Linked DNA regions of Homo sapiens: region 1 is linked to region 2. The links are contacts of gene promoters, found by promoter capture Hi-C in human tissues and cell types (Jung and others, 2019). All regions are on one chromosome and are shown on one strand. Each heading gives the region's core, a stretch centred on a gene start or on the middle of the fragment in contact. The rest is flanking DNA. Distances are from core to core; before and after follow the strand shown.

The links. The method cuts DNA at HindIII sites, captures the fragments that hold promoters and counts their contacts. A contact is called where the count stands out against the background at its distance.
Region 1: a fragment that was not itself captured here is called in contact with the fragment with the promoter of RASA1 in region 2 in 1 of the 25 tissues and cell types used here (hippocampus).

What each region holds. Positions count from the first base shown.
Region 1 is chr5:88,722,741-88,729,102 of GRCh38, reverse strand. It overlaps MEF2C (myocyte enhancer factor 2C), which reads left to right. Exons shown (of 11, transcript NM_002397.5): 10 at 475-610; 11 at 6,178-6,362. MEF2C-AS2 (MEF2C antisense RNA 2) reads right to left here. Exons shown (of 4, transcript NR_146284.1): 4 at 6,272-6,362. Among named protein-coding and RNA genes, the nearest start is that of GSCAR, 29 kb to the right of the region's middle. The HindIII fragment of the contact is 4,253 bases long and covers 1-3,376 here.
Region 2 is chr5:87,262,193-87,269,132 of GRCh38, reverse strand. It overlaps RASA1 (RAS p21 protein activator 1), which reads right to left and starts at 1,250. Exons shown (of 25, transcript NM_002890.3): 1 at 143-1,250. The coding sequence starts at 681. RefSeq lists enhancers at 479-528, 286-1,173, 1,227-1,521 and silencers at 709-888, 1,229-1,478. The HindIII fragment of the contact is 7,176 bases long and covers 1-6,270 here.

The DNA of each region.
Region 1 (6,362 bases), core at 1-2,500, 1.5 Mb before region 2:
AGCACTGCAGCATTACCCATTCTTCACTAAGACAAAGTGAATATCCACATTTTTCTTTCTTAACTGACTGAAAGTTTTATTTATGCAACCTGAGTTCAAAATAGAAACACACTTTCAAGAAAATTGAGCTGTTTCTTTGATGTAATAAAAAGCTCACTTTCTCAGGATTGTTTAACATTTCTACATCATCAAATATGTACATACCTTTATACTAGATTGTAGTTCTAATAAACTAGAATTGCGGACTATGCTACTTCAGAGCATTCGTGGAATACTTATTTTTGGTTTATAGTATATTCCTTTTAAATTAGAATTATCGCTGATGCTTTATCTCCCCTCCCCTCAAAATTAAAAATATCTATAATAACGATAATCCTAATAGAATATTTTGGAAATTGAAAATGTTTATTCTATTTACCATTTGATAATTTCTAAATTTAATATTTTCCCTTGTTGTTTTATTCTTTAATCTAGAGTACTCTCTGAGTAGTGCAGACCTGTCATCTCTGTCTGGGTTTAACACCGCCAGCGCTCTTCACCTTGGTTCAGTAACTGGCTGGCAACAGCAACACCTACATAACATGCCACCATCTGCCCTCAGTCAGTTGGGGTAAGCAATATTATTTTTTATAATATAATTTTAGAATGTATTTTGAAAAACAAATGACAGTCTCTAAATATGTGCTTCAATATCCCATTAACGGGTATAAAACTCTACTTTATTGAAATCCAAGTGTAATTTTCAGATCAATACTTTTCAAGTAGCTTAAATCTTATATACCTGTTTTTTAAGAGGACAGCGAGCTCTGTAATAATGAGGTAAATTCTTTCCTTATTGTTTTAGGCTACATTTGTTTCCACTTCTATCAGTGATATAATTTTTATTTAGTTTTCACACAGTTCATTTGGGACATAAGAAGGCATTTATAGTATAAGCTTAGATATTTGAGAATTTTTCTTTTTTCACATAAACCATATGGTTTATGCTAATGTTAACCTAATACACATAGGAACAACTAGTCAATTGATACACAGGCTTCATGTATTTATAATGTACTCATAGTATAGTTGTATACTTATAGATATTTTAAGAAATATATGTATATAATACTAACTAGTACATATAATACTAATTACCTAAATTTGGATATAAAAATAATTTTTGTTTTATGTAGTCAGAGGATGTATCTTTCTGCCCCCTTGTGGTAGTTTTCAGATATGTCTTTATCATAGAAATGACTCTTGTCATTTATCTATGGAAACGTTCAAACCTTTAAAAAGCTCTGAATTCACAATTCACACTATTTCATATAAAACAAATCATTTTTTTAAAAAAGCTTAAAACGTTAACTGAAAGCCTGACTGTAAATTTAATAAGTCCAAAATTGCAATTAATCTTCAAAAGAAAATACCAGGAGGATATAAAATATTTAAAGATAACAAGCTTTTATATTTTAAAAATATTCTGTCTGCCTAGCCCACTTTTACTTTTCTGCTTAGCCATTTGTTATCGTTAATCACTTAGCTGTATTAGTTAACTAGTTATATATCCATATGTCTAAGGAGACAGTGAGAATAAAACACTGATTAGTATAAAAGTCACTGATTTATACCACAACTTTGTGTCTCTTATGTTTGCTGGTGCCCTCTCTCCCCCCACCCACTAGCTTTCACATGATAGTGATTTAGCATATATTAGTGATCTGATTATGAAATATTCACCCGTACACTGTTTGCTTATGTTCATCCTACCCGCTAATCACTGTCATTGAAAATCTAACCTTTCATTTAAATAGTAAGATAAATTCACGTGATACTGTTGGTCAGCTTTCTTGAAAGATAGTTAACTTTGAAGATACATTACATATTGATCAGCGCAGAGTTTTATCTTTTTAGGACACTTAAATTTTCTCTGGAATGTTAACTATTCAAGTAGACATTAACTGTGGGAACTTCTTCAGGTAATTATCACCAAGCACATAATTCCATCCAGGCAACTAAAAAATATGTACATGTATACATATTTTGTACAAAGTATCAACTGCTATGGCTTAGCAGGGAATCCACTGAACATGATTCTTGTCAAAAATAAACATAACTGCTTATTTCCCATTTTTTTCACAAAATTCATCCATTATAGGGCTAGATTTCCCTAAAAGTTATCAATGTCAAAAGCCATATTATTTTCTCTGAATGTGGCTTTTTTTTGTTTTCAATAGTACCTGATAATTTATATTTTTACATATAAACACATATTTATTTACATATTTTAGCTGTACTACAATTTTAAAACTCTTTTCTATTACAAGGAAGAATCTAATTCTCTGCTGCCTCTAATAGAGGTTTCAGAAAATGAGAAAGGAGGGACAGCCTTAGACAGAAAGGAACTGAATTACAACAGCCAAAGGTTAAGCATTTTGTTCAGCTCCCGGTTCCTTTCAACACTTAATTTCGTTGTGCTTAATTTGACTCTTAGTTTTCTCTGTGAGTTTTAATTGCACTTAATCACTTCCCTTACCCCTCAAATCAATGGAATGACCCTTCCAGTCCTTCCACTGTTGGCCCTTCTCTCTCTCTGCTTCACACACACTCTTTTCTCCCTCTCACAATCACACACAGAGTAGCTTTTTGAAAGGAGGTTCCTTCACATGGACTACCTCATATTCACACGATTAAATGTTAAACTGTTTTTTTAAAAAATCCCAAGCTGCAATACTTATGTAAAGTAATTCACATGAGCATCCTTAATTCTTTACAGTGTAAATCAATTTAAAAAGAATTGATACATTTTCCAGGCCAAAGTTGTCGCAGAGATTTGTGTTGCGGGCTCACATTCTTTTGGCTAGAGACAATGTTCATAGCAGAGTGGAATATATTTCAGCTCCACCAAAGTAGATATTCCCAGCAGCCCAAGATGGTTACCACAATTCTTTCTCAAAATTGCAAAACCATAAACAGAGTTCTTCATATTTTGTCCATGGAAAAAAAGTTCATTTTGTCCTTTGGAGCTTTAAGTCTTCAAAGCTATACTTTTAAAACCTAGTATCTGATTTTATCTAACCAAGCTAAGTAAGCAACACAAATTTATTTGCTATAGGGAGAGAGATGGCTGACAGAGGAACTTGCCATCAAGAGTTAATGAAAGTCCTTTGAATACTAATATTTGATTTAGTGTAACACTAAGTTTTAGTGTTTTTCTAAACCACCACCTATAAAAAGGGCAGCCTGTTTTCTGGAAGCATTTCCATACGTCAACTTTGTTGATGTGGGTGTTCAGTACATACTGAGAGAGATAACTCTGAGTAGAGATGACTTATAAAAGGTTAGGTTAAATATAGTTTGATAGTCTAATTTCCAGGCGGAGGCAGTAAAAATTTTGAATAAAACTATCCAGTCATGTTTGATTTCTGAACAATTATGGGAAAGGGTAGGAGTTTTCCCAATTCAAAAGCATCTGTAATAGATGAAAATTTGCATAGAGGACTTGATATGGGTAACTTGCATATCTGGCTTCTATCTCCCCACCCACCTCTTTATCACCCACCCACACATATGCAGTATTTCACAATTATCAGGGTCTATAATTATTCGTGTCTATATTTTGTTCTCAAGTAGACCAACATGCTTATATCTGAACCTAGCATATATGCAGTTAAGTTATTTTAATGCTACTTTTTTCTTTTCAAGAAAATACTTCTTTGTTAACAGAGACTAGCCATTCTATTTTATATCCTATGTCACAGTATAATGAAGCTGAATCTAAGATATCACTTGCATTTTACTACTGTGGATTTAGTCCCCAGAACTACTCAAAATGCTTCATGTATGTTTTCAGTGTCAAATGAAATTCCACCAAAAGATAAATTTAAGCTAGTCTGTTTGTAGGAAGGGATAACCAATAATTGTTACATCTTTCATGGGGAAGATACACAGCTAAACCTATACAGGCCAGTTAACATAGGAAGATGATGCAAAGAGGTGAATAATGCAGCTTCCAAAAACTGTATTAAAGAAACAGAATTTTGGTTATATTATTTTTCCCTTACCTTGTCTAGATTAACTGCTTAGACTGTCCAACTCACCAATTTTTTCTTCTAATTTTCTATGTCACCCTCCCTGTGAAGACATAATCTGTATGTCAAAGAGCAAGCAAAAGTATTTATTGACATATCACTTTTTATTTTCAGACTCCTAATTCATATTCATTATTAAATAGTTGTGTGATTCATAGCAGAAGCATTTAATTAAATTTTAGTGAAATGGTCTTTCTTAGAGCCAGGAAAATTCTTTATTCCAGAAATCAAAAGACGATTTCCTCAAACATCAGAATGAATCACTAAGTAACTTTGAACCAAGATAAAATAGTCTACCATTATGAATCCTTTTGAAATACAGGTGTTCCCTCTCCCCATTTTAACAAGGCTTATTTAATTAAAACTTTTGGAAAATTAGTAAACTGATAGACTATAAATTAATAAGCTACAAATAAATAGCTCCAAATATAAACAGGTGTTTGAAAATTATATACAGTCAGTGTAGTTTCTTGATATAAATGCTAACACTGCTTTGATTATATAAGATCATAAAAGCTAGAGAAAGAGACGCTTATTAAGGAAACAAATAATTCTCCTTTATATTATTCTCTACATTAGCTCATCTATTTATTAATAGGAGAAGGAAAGTAATTCTTTGCCAGTAGGTGGTGCTTTTGTACAAAACATCACTCAAAGATAAACTCGTTTCTGACTAATTTTATATCACTATACATCTTGAGTTTGTATTGCATCTCCCAAAAAGCCAGCCCCAAGTTACTTCACTTTTTTTCTGAAATATATACTTTTTCTCTCAGTGGTCATAATGACATTGTTAGTGCCAACTAATTCTCTCCACTGGAAAGCAGCATAATTACATACATTAGTAAGTAGGCTTGCTTTCCTTTGTTTAAAATGGGTGTGTCTGTATGGATAATTCTTCACTTGGATTCTTCCTCAGTAAAAGAGAGTACCATGCTCTTTTGACAATATAGTCAAGTAATCCTGACTCTAGCTCTGGAAGTCAGTGTAATTAGTGTAAGAAGAGTAAAAGCATCTTAAAATTGATGCGAGCAATGCCACTATGGTTTATCCTGATCAAAGTCATTGTGATTGCTAATCTACACTTAAGGGCTTAATACTTTTTTCCTCTAGAATTCCAAGTTTCTAAATTTTCCCAGATTTTGGAAAAAGGAAAAATTATTCTCTCTGGGAATATATGAGGATTAAGGATTATAAACACAGTAAAATCACACTACATCCTTCTTGGCAACAAGCTTTCCTTAGGCAACACCAGATTCATCAACTAATGCCAATGATAAATAAGAGGAGTGGTAGCCTAAGAACCGCACGCATCAGGGAGTGACTAACATTAATAAAATTGAGGTCATTGTGGAACACAAAGTATTTTCATCTCATGTAACTGCAAAAGGATGAAGAAAGTCAAATTATCAGTTTTAATGGAGTAGAAAGTCTTAAGTGTTTGAAAACCAACGTTTAAACTTTCTGCAGATAATTTTCAATTTCCCTCCCCCTTTCCATTTTTTCCACCTCCAAAGCTTTTTACCAGATACAGTTATTGTGCAGCATTTGAGTTCTAGTCATTTAAAATTTAACTCCCTTCACTTTCTCTGAAGACTATGTGATTCCATCTGTATGTGCTTATTAATTGGAGGCAAATATTTATATTGATAATAAGCTTTTAAAAATAATATTCAAACACAAGCATTAGTAAATCAAGGAAGTCTAATTCCAGAGCTAAACACTGTATCTAAATGCTTAGAAATTTAATTTTTAGAACTAGTCTAGGGATAGAGTCCATGAACACAGAAAATGCTTTTTCCATTGTGTCTTAAACCTTTCTGAAATGGTAACCTATATGTTTAGGGAGCCTCTCGGAGACTAGAGATATAATTCATGAGGCCTGGACCAGTTAAATGCTGTAATTACTACCGGGCAAATCAACAAAGGCATCCTAAATCGCCCTGAGAAGGCGATGCCCTTATGTGCTTCCAAGCACGTTTTCTTCACTCTGGGCATGCTCTGGTGTCTATGCGAGTCTTTAAGCTGATGTTTGATTTAATTGTGAGTTCCTGGGGCCTCCAGGCCTCCTTCATCTGTAACTGGGTTTCCTTTCCTCCTACAGAGCTTGCACTAGCACTCATTTATCTCAGAGTTCAAATCTCTCCCTGCCTTCTACTCAAAGCCTCAACATCAAGTCAGAACCTGTTTCTCCTCCTAGAGACCGTACCACCACCCCTTCGAGATACCCACAACACACGCGCCACGAGGCGGGGAGATCTCCTGTTGACAGCTTGAGCAGCTGTAGCA
Region 2 (6,940 bases), core at 1-2,500:
ATTCCTACCCAAGAAACCTGAAACTTCAAAAACTTTTCCTAACAAACCACAGATGAAAAGGACAAAGTATGATTTACCCCTTCATTTCCACTTCTTTTCTGGAGCCAGCTTCCCAAATTCCTGAACAGCAGTCTTAACTTACTGGTTAGTTGGAGGAGCGGTCAACGGTATGGCCACCTCTTCCTCCTCGTATTCTGGTCCATCCAGAGAGTCACCTTCGTCCACTGTCCCGAGGCCCGCCCCCAAAGGGGGCAGGTAAGGGGGAGGGGGCAGAGGGGGAAAACCGCCGCCTGGCCCGAGAGTCTCAGCAAGCAACGAAGTGGGCAGTTTGGTGAGAGCCATGTCTCCACTAGGTCCAGCAACAGCAGCACCGGCCACGCCAGCAGCAGCACCAGCTACGCCAGCAGCAGTACCTCCCCCTGTCAGTCCAGCTCCCCCCAGTGCCCCTGCCACAGACCCGGCTCCTAGGAACTCTGACCCCAAAGCGGCTCCGCCACCCAGAGTTCCAGCCACTCCGGTCTCCACCAGCCCAGGATAGGGGGCGGCTGCCACAGGCAGGGCCGCGGGTATCTTCACCCGACACACTGCGGGATAGGCACTGGAGCCCGCTGCCGCGCCGCCTCCTCCAGCTCCGGCTGTTACCGGGCCGCCCTCCTCACTGCCGGCCTCGGCCGCCATCATGTTGAAGCCCGCTCTACTCTGCCCTACCCTGCCCGCCCGGGAGCCCCAGGGGCCACCAGGCCCGGGCTCCGAGCAGCCCCACCCAGACGCGTCTCCCCTTCAGCTCCCCAGGCTGAGGAAACAACAACAAAAGGAGAGAGCCCGCCGCCGCGCCCCCTCCTAGGGCCACAGCCCAGGCTCCCCAGCTGCCTGGGTTACGGGAAGCCAAGTGGGCAAAAAACCCAACGCCTGCACAAACGCCACCCAAACCTCACCGCACACACCCACACTCACGCACACAAACACATGTACAGAAGCGAAAACTTCCTCGCTGCACTAAAGAGGAAAGGAAGCACAGGGAAAGAGGCTGAGGCTGCTACCGCTCCTTCAGCCGCCACCACCGCTTCTTCACCACCCCAGTTCCGGCCACCCACACCGCAGCCACCGCCGGTGCCGCTGCTGAGGCTGGGGCCACTGCAGCCGCTTCATCCTCCACCAGGCAGATGAGAGGGGTGGGGGGGCAAGAGAAAGGGGGGCGGGGTAACGAGGAAATCGACTGAACTGCTCACTACCTGGAGCTCTCAGTGAGTGAAACGGGAGAGAGAGAAAGGAAGGCGGGGCAGGGGAGGAGGGACGGAGGGAAGGAAGGGCGGAGAAGGGAGAGGGCAGCTTGTGCGCAGGCGCGTTCCCGGAGCGGGGGCGGGGGGCCGGGCCGGGAGGAAAAGGAAGAGTCCAGAGGGAAGGAAGCGGCGGGGACGCGCGGTGCGTGGTCGCGCTTGCTGTCCTCCTCCGGTTCCAAGCGTGTGGCGGCGCGGCCGCATCTCCTGTTGGCGTGGCCGGCGGCGCGCGCCTGTCTCCCGGGGCTTTGTTTGATGGGCGGGAGAAGAGGGAAGGGTACCTGAGCACGCGGGTGCTTGGCGCTGTTAAAGCCGGAGAGACCAGAGGGGGACCAGGAGGCGGTGGAGAGGAAGGAGGGGGAAAGGGAAAGGAAAATGCCCAGAAACTAGTTCCGTACTTCCTGACCAGTGGAAAAAACAGCCTTAACCAGCAGCGCAGAAACCGGGCAGGGGTCAGGTAGCTTTGAAGATCGGGGCAGTACTATTAATGTTTTCTTTTTCGTTGCATGCTATAAATCACTATGACTATCTCACACACACACAGTTAAAATAGATTCTGAAACTCCAAAACGAAATAAAGGGCACCATATGAGAAGGGTGAAGAATTTGAGTAGAAATAGTGGTTATGAAGTAAGATTTCTACCAGTATTTGCATACGTTTTTCTTTATCAACTGTCTCATATACTTACCTATGCCATTATAAGTCTGTTGGATACTGATGAAGAGGAGGAGGTGCCACAGAAAACACTAATCAATGCACTTTTGTCCTGGTTTGTGTGCAAAAGACTGCAGGACGTGATCCACAATGCAAGCACCTTCAACAAGTCAAATGTCAAGAATGTCCCAGAATGCTAGTTATAATTATATATCGTTTCAAAAGTAGCAATAAACTGAAAACTCATTTTTAATACAATTAAGGAGAAGGGTGTTATTTTGTCTTTTACACTAAAATGTATACAAACTATGCATTCATGTAGAGGGAGCTTCCCATGGTTTGAAATTAACAATATTGTTAAATTCTCCCAGGAGTGATCCCACATTAAATACCATTGGATATTGATCTTTGAGATCAATATTTTCTGTGCTAAGGATGATCAAACTAACACTCAGGATGGCAAGTGGCTGTGATAGAAACCCAGGAAAAAGAGAAAAGACCACTAAAAGACGTGACAAGATACAGGCAATGCATTGCCTTTGTAAGTTTGCACAGGCCTATTTACCTAGTCAATGACAACAATCCAACTTGATTAGGAGTAGTCCTGGGGCCTCCATTACGCATATCTCTTAGCAGTGTGCTACCTGGGAGAAGGAAGATGGACCAGTCACAGGAGCTAGAGTTCTCAAAGTGAATTCAGGCCGCAACATCCTAGGAATTCAGAAATGCCACCTCAGACCTTCTGAATCAGAAAATATGCAGCGATCCATTTTAACAAACCCTCCAAGTGATTGTTTGCACACTTAAGTTTGAGAACCACTATATTAATGTATAGTATACTAATCAAGAAGGAGGTATGCAATACCTAAAAACGGTTCTGAAAGAAATAATAAATGTCATTCATTAGGTGGGTAGGTAAAATAGGCGGGTTTTGAGTTGCCAAGCTCTGTGCTGTTCTAGAAATGAGAATGAAGTAGTTCCATAATACTTAATAATGAAGTACTACTTATGGTGGCCTCCCTGAGAACAGTTTTCTTTTAAACTTAGACCCTCAGTTAGACAAGACTATCAAAATACCTACTCTACTTACTGTCTGCTGTGTGAACACCAAGTGCAACAATCCCAACAAATCTTAATATAGCCTGTGCTTGAAAACCTCCAGTGTGTTAGCATCCCAATCCTCCAACATTCCTGTCCCAGTCACCACTGTCAGCCCTTGAATGCAGGACATTGAACTGGCAGGTTATCACCGGCTCTTGGTTATCACTGATTTCTAAATGTTCACACACCCTCTGTATGTTGCCTGGGAGTCCAGGTGAGGCTCACTACTCTTACTGCAGAATTACCTCCTCCTTTTTGACAATTCTTTAGCACTTGTAAAGGTCAATATTTAATGCAGTCTAACACCTATCAAATGCTCAATTAAATGTTTTCTAGACTTTTAGGTGTATGTACCTACAAAACTGTACTGCAAATACAACCTGTGGTCTATTCTACTGCCTAGCCCAGTCCTAGGCAACCTCAGTATGCTACTTTGAACAGATCTTCATCCTTTTAACAAATACCAAATTTGATCAGCTCCCATCTTTGGAAATCAATTTCTTAACCAGTAGGAAATAACTACTATGTCTATTTGTAAATCAGCCTTATACCAATATCTTACCTAGTTTTTGTTTAGCCTTAGAGTTAGCCCTGTTCTTTTCCTCCAAAGAAATTGCCACATATTTTTATGAGGTATTTTCAGATATTTAATATATTCCTATTATTGGATAGATCTAGGCTCTAATCTTTACTATTGCTTGTGTACTTTCTGAATCTCAAATACGTTGTCTATCTTTATTTTCATTTTTTCCAAAAGGATTTAATGTTTCTACTTAATTTTTGTCCATTGCCTTTCTTTTCTACCCACCTTAACTTTCTGCCCAGTTAACAAAGGGAAGTAAACTATCTTAATTAAATTCACAGATATTAAACAGGGAGGTATTGAAAAACAGAATAGTACACAAAAGAAAGAAAATTCAAAATATATTTTACCTTTAGTAAAATAAGCTATTATATCTGTGATTTTAGAAAAGTTACTCTGGATCTTGAAACATAGTATTTAATGAAGACTAAATAATAAAAAGTGCTGGACAAAAACTTGTGTATGAAAAGAAACTGAAAATTTAAGAAATGAAGTTGGCTCATTCTGGTTTCATTGGCAACTGAAATATGAATGTGGCCGGGTGCGGTGGCTCACGCCTGTAATCCTAGCACTTTGGAAGGCCGAGGCGGGCAGATCACAAGGTCAGGAGATCGAGACAATCCTGGCTAACACTCCAGCCTGGGTGACAGAGCAAGACTCTGTCTCAAAAAAAAAAAAAAGAAAAAGAAATATGAATGTACTACGTTCCAAAATATTTTATAGTTTTGATATCTTGAGTATGTGGAAAGGTAATTCTAACTCAGTAACATAACTGTAATTTTAGAGGACCTTAGAGCATAGGTAAGAATAGTTTCTGATGGGAGGACTAACCAAGAAGTAATAAAGAGCTTACTGCTGTGTTTGAAGAATGCCAAATTGTGTTCCATGCCCTAGTACATATTGAGTTACACAAATAGCCTTCCAAATTTACCTAAATAGTATCAAAAGGTTTCATTGACCCAATAATTTTGAAAGAAAGCCTTTACTTCTAACCCTAATGTCCCCACTGCATTTATTGACTTTATCTTAAAACCCTCCAGAGCACAAATTTTTTTATTACAAAGATCTTATGAGAAAATAACATCGAGGAGATACAGGTTAAAGGAAATACTTTGATGAAAAGGCAAATAACTCTGCAGAGATTACAATATGTGGTATAATAACTAAGATTTATGAAAATTATAAATACCATAGAGAAATTGAAGAACTGTGTGATGATCTCTGAGGCTGTAAAATAAATTACAAGGTAAATTATCCAGAGCTCTCTCAAAACATTCAAACCAATATATGAGTAAAGAAGATTAGAACAGTTAGATCTAAATATCTCTTAAAATATAAAATAATAGAAAAATATATTTTTTTTTTTTACTTTATTCCTATTTTGTCTTTATATTGCAGATACTTCATTATTTTTTGTCAGAACCTTTCCTCCTTCATGATTTCTAGTCTCTTTTTCTTTACCTATTATTTTACTCTGACCAGGCACATTTATGTATTTTCCTTTCTTTGCCTGGCTCCTATATATGATAGTACCTCATGGTAGAAGTAAAGGAGAAAAGGGAACGGAATGGTTTCAAGGCAAAGAATGTGGGAGAGTCGGGTGGGTAGGACTTTGCCATATTTCCCTCATTATTACACTCCCATTTTTCACAGATAATATTTTTTGAATATGCCAGCAACAATTTAAATAGCACCTGAAGCACAGTCATGAAATCCAACTAAGCTTTGGTCTTTTCACCTCAAGAATCCTGCAGTCTCTAATTCAAGTTACATTCTTTGGTCTACCTGAGAGTCTTCCAGGAATGCTTTCACTTGCAAATTCAGTTAGTATGGCAATACACACCGCTCTTTAAAGTAACTATACAATGAAAGGGCTAAGTGGAGCCTTGAGTCAGATAATTATCATAAATAAGGTGAGAGCTTTAACTACTGCAAATGCACTGTAAGTAGTGTAACTTTACTCAACTAAAAACAGCTTTCTATTTCTAACTATAATTATTTCTCAATCCGCGTGCTCTTTTGAAGACTTTTCAACTTCACTTGTTATCTTACTAGAACTCTTATTTTTCAACTTCCTATTCACTGTTTATCGAATAGTTTTTAAAAAGCAATGAAATATGACATGTAAATATAATGGTATGTATCAGTGATGTTCAGACTTCTGGGTTTCATAGACTACTAAAGTTTCCACAAAAATTGAGAGACTACAGAATTGCCAATTATGAGTTTGCCAATGTTGTGAAGAGAGAAGTATTTTGTTATTACAACAAAACTGCCATTTCCTGCTGCTTTATTTCATAAAAGGAAAGGACATTTCAAAGCAGGGAGAAAGAGGGAAGGAGGAAAGAGAAAGGATGGAAATAATTTTAGAAAAAAAAGGAAAAGTCCTTAGAATTACATAAATTTAGCTTCATGAAATATTCATCATATATTATGTTCTTATTTTATCTTTTTCCATGGATGCATTAAAAATTGGCATTGAAGGCCAGGCATGGTGGCTCAAGACTATAATCCCAGTACTTTGGGAGGCCAAGGCAGGAGGATCACTTGAGCCCTGGAGTTCCAGACCAGCATGGGCAACATAGTGAGACCCTGTCTCTATGAGAAATAGAAAAAATTAGCCAGGTGTGGTGGTACATGCCTGTAGTCCCAGCTAATTGGGAGGCTTAGGTGGGCAGATAGCTTGAGCTCCAGAGGTTGAGGGTGCAGTGAGCTGTGATTGTGCCACTGCACACCAGCCTGGGTGACAGCAAGACTCTGTCTCAAAAACAACAACAACAAAACAACAACAACAAAAAAGAAAAACAAATAGCATTAGTTTGACAAAATATCTTAGTTTGGATTTCCCCAGAAGCAGACTTTGAGACTAGTACTTGAGTGTTAAATTTTTTACTTAGGAAGTGATTCCAGAATACTTCAGTTCAAGAGCAAGAAAGGGGAGGGGGCCAATACAGGGAATGCTAAAATGAGCAGGTTGCTGCTGTGGATAAGTAGGGCACTCCATTCATGTGAAACTCTGGGACACAGCACAGAATCCACCTGAGAGTTGTTACGCCTAAGGGTCAAAGAAAATGTGTTTTATCCATCAGTTCTCATTTGGCATTGGTTGAGGGCTGCTCCTGGAAGCATCTCCTCTGCAACACTTCCAGACTGCCTTGTGTGCAATTTGAACATCTTCATGGCTAGAGAAAGCCCTCAGGTAGAGAGCCACTGGTGCATGCAGTAAGAAACCATTGGCATGCACAGAACAGGTGACTCCAAGGGGGTGTGGACTTGACACTGACAGTAGCTATTGTACCAGGATTTCAGAACCCCTGGATTGAA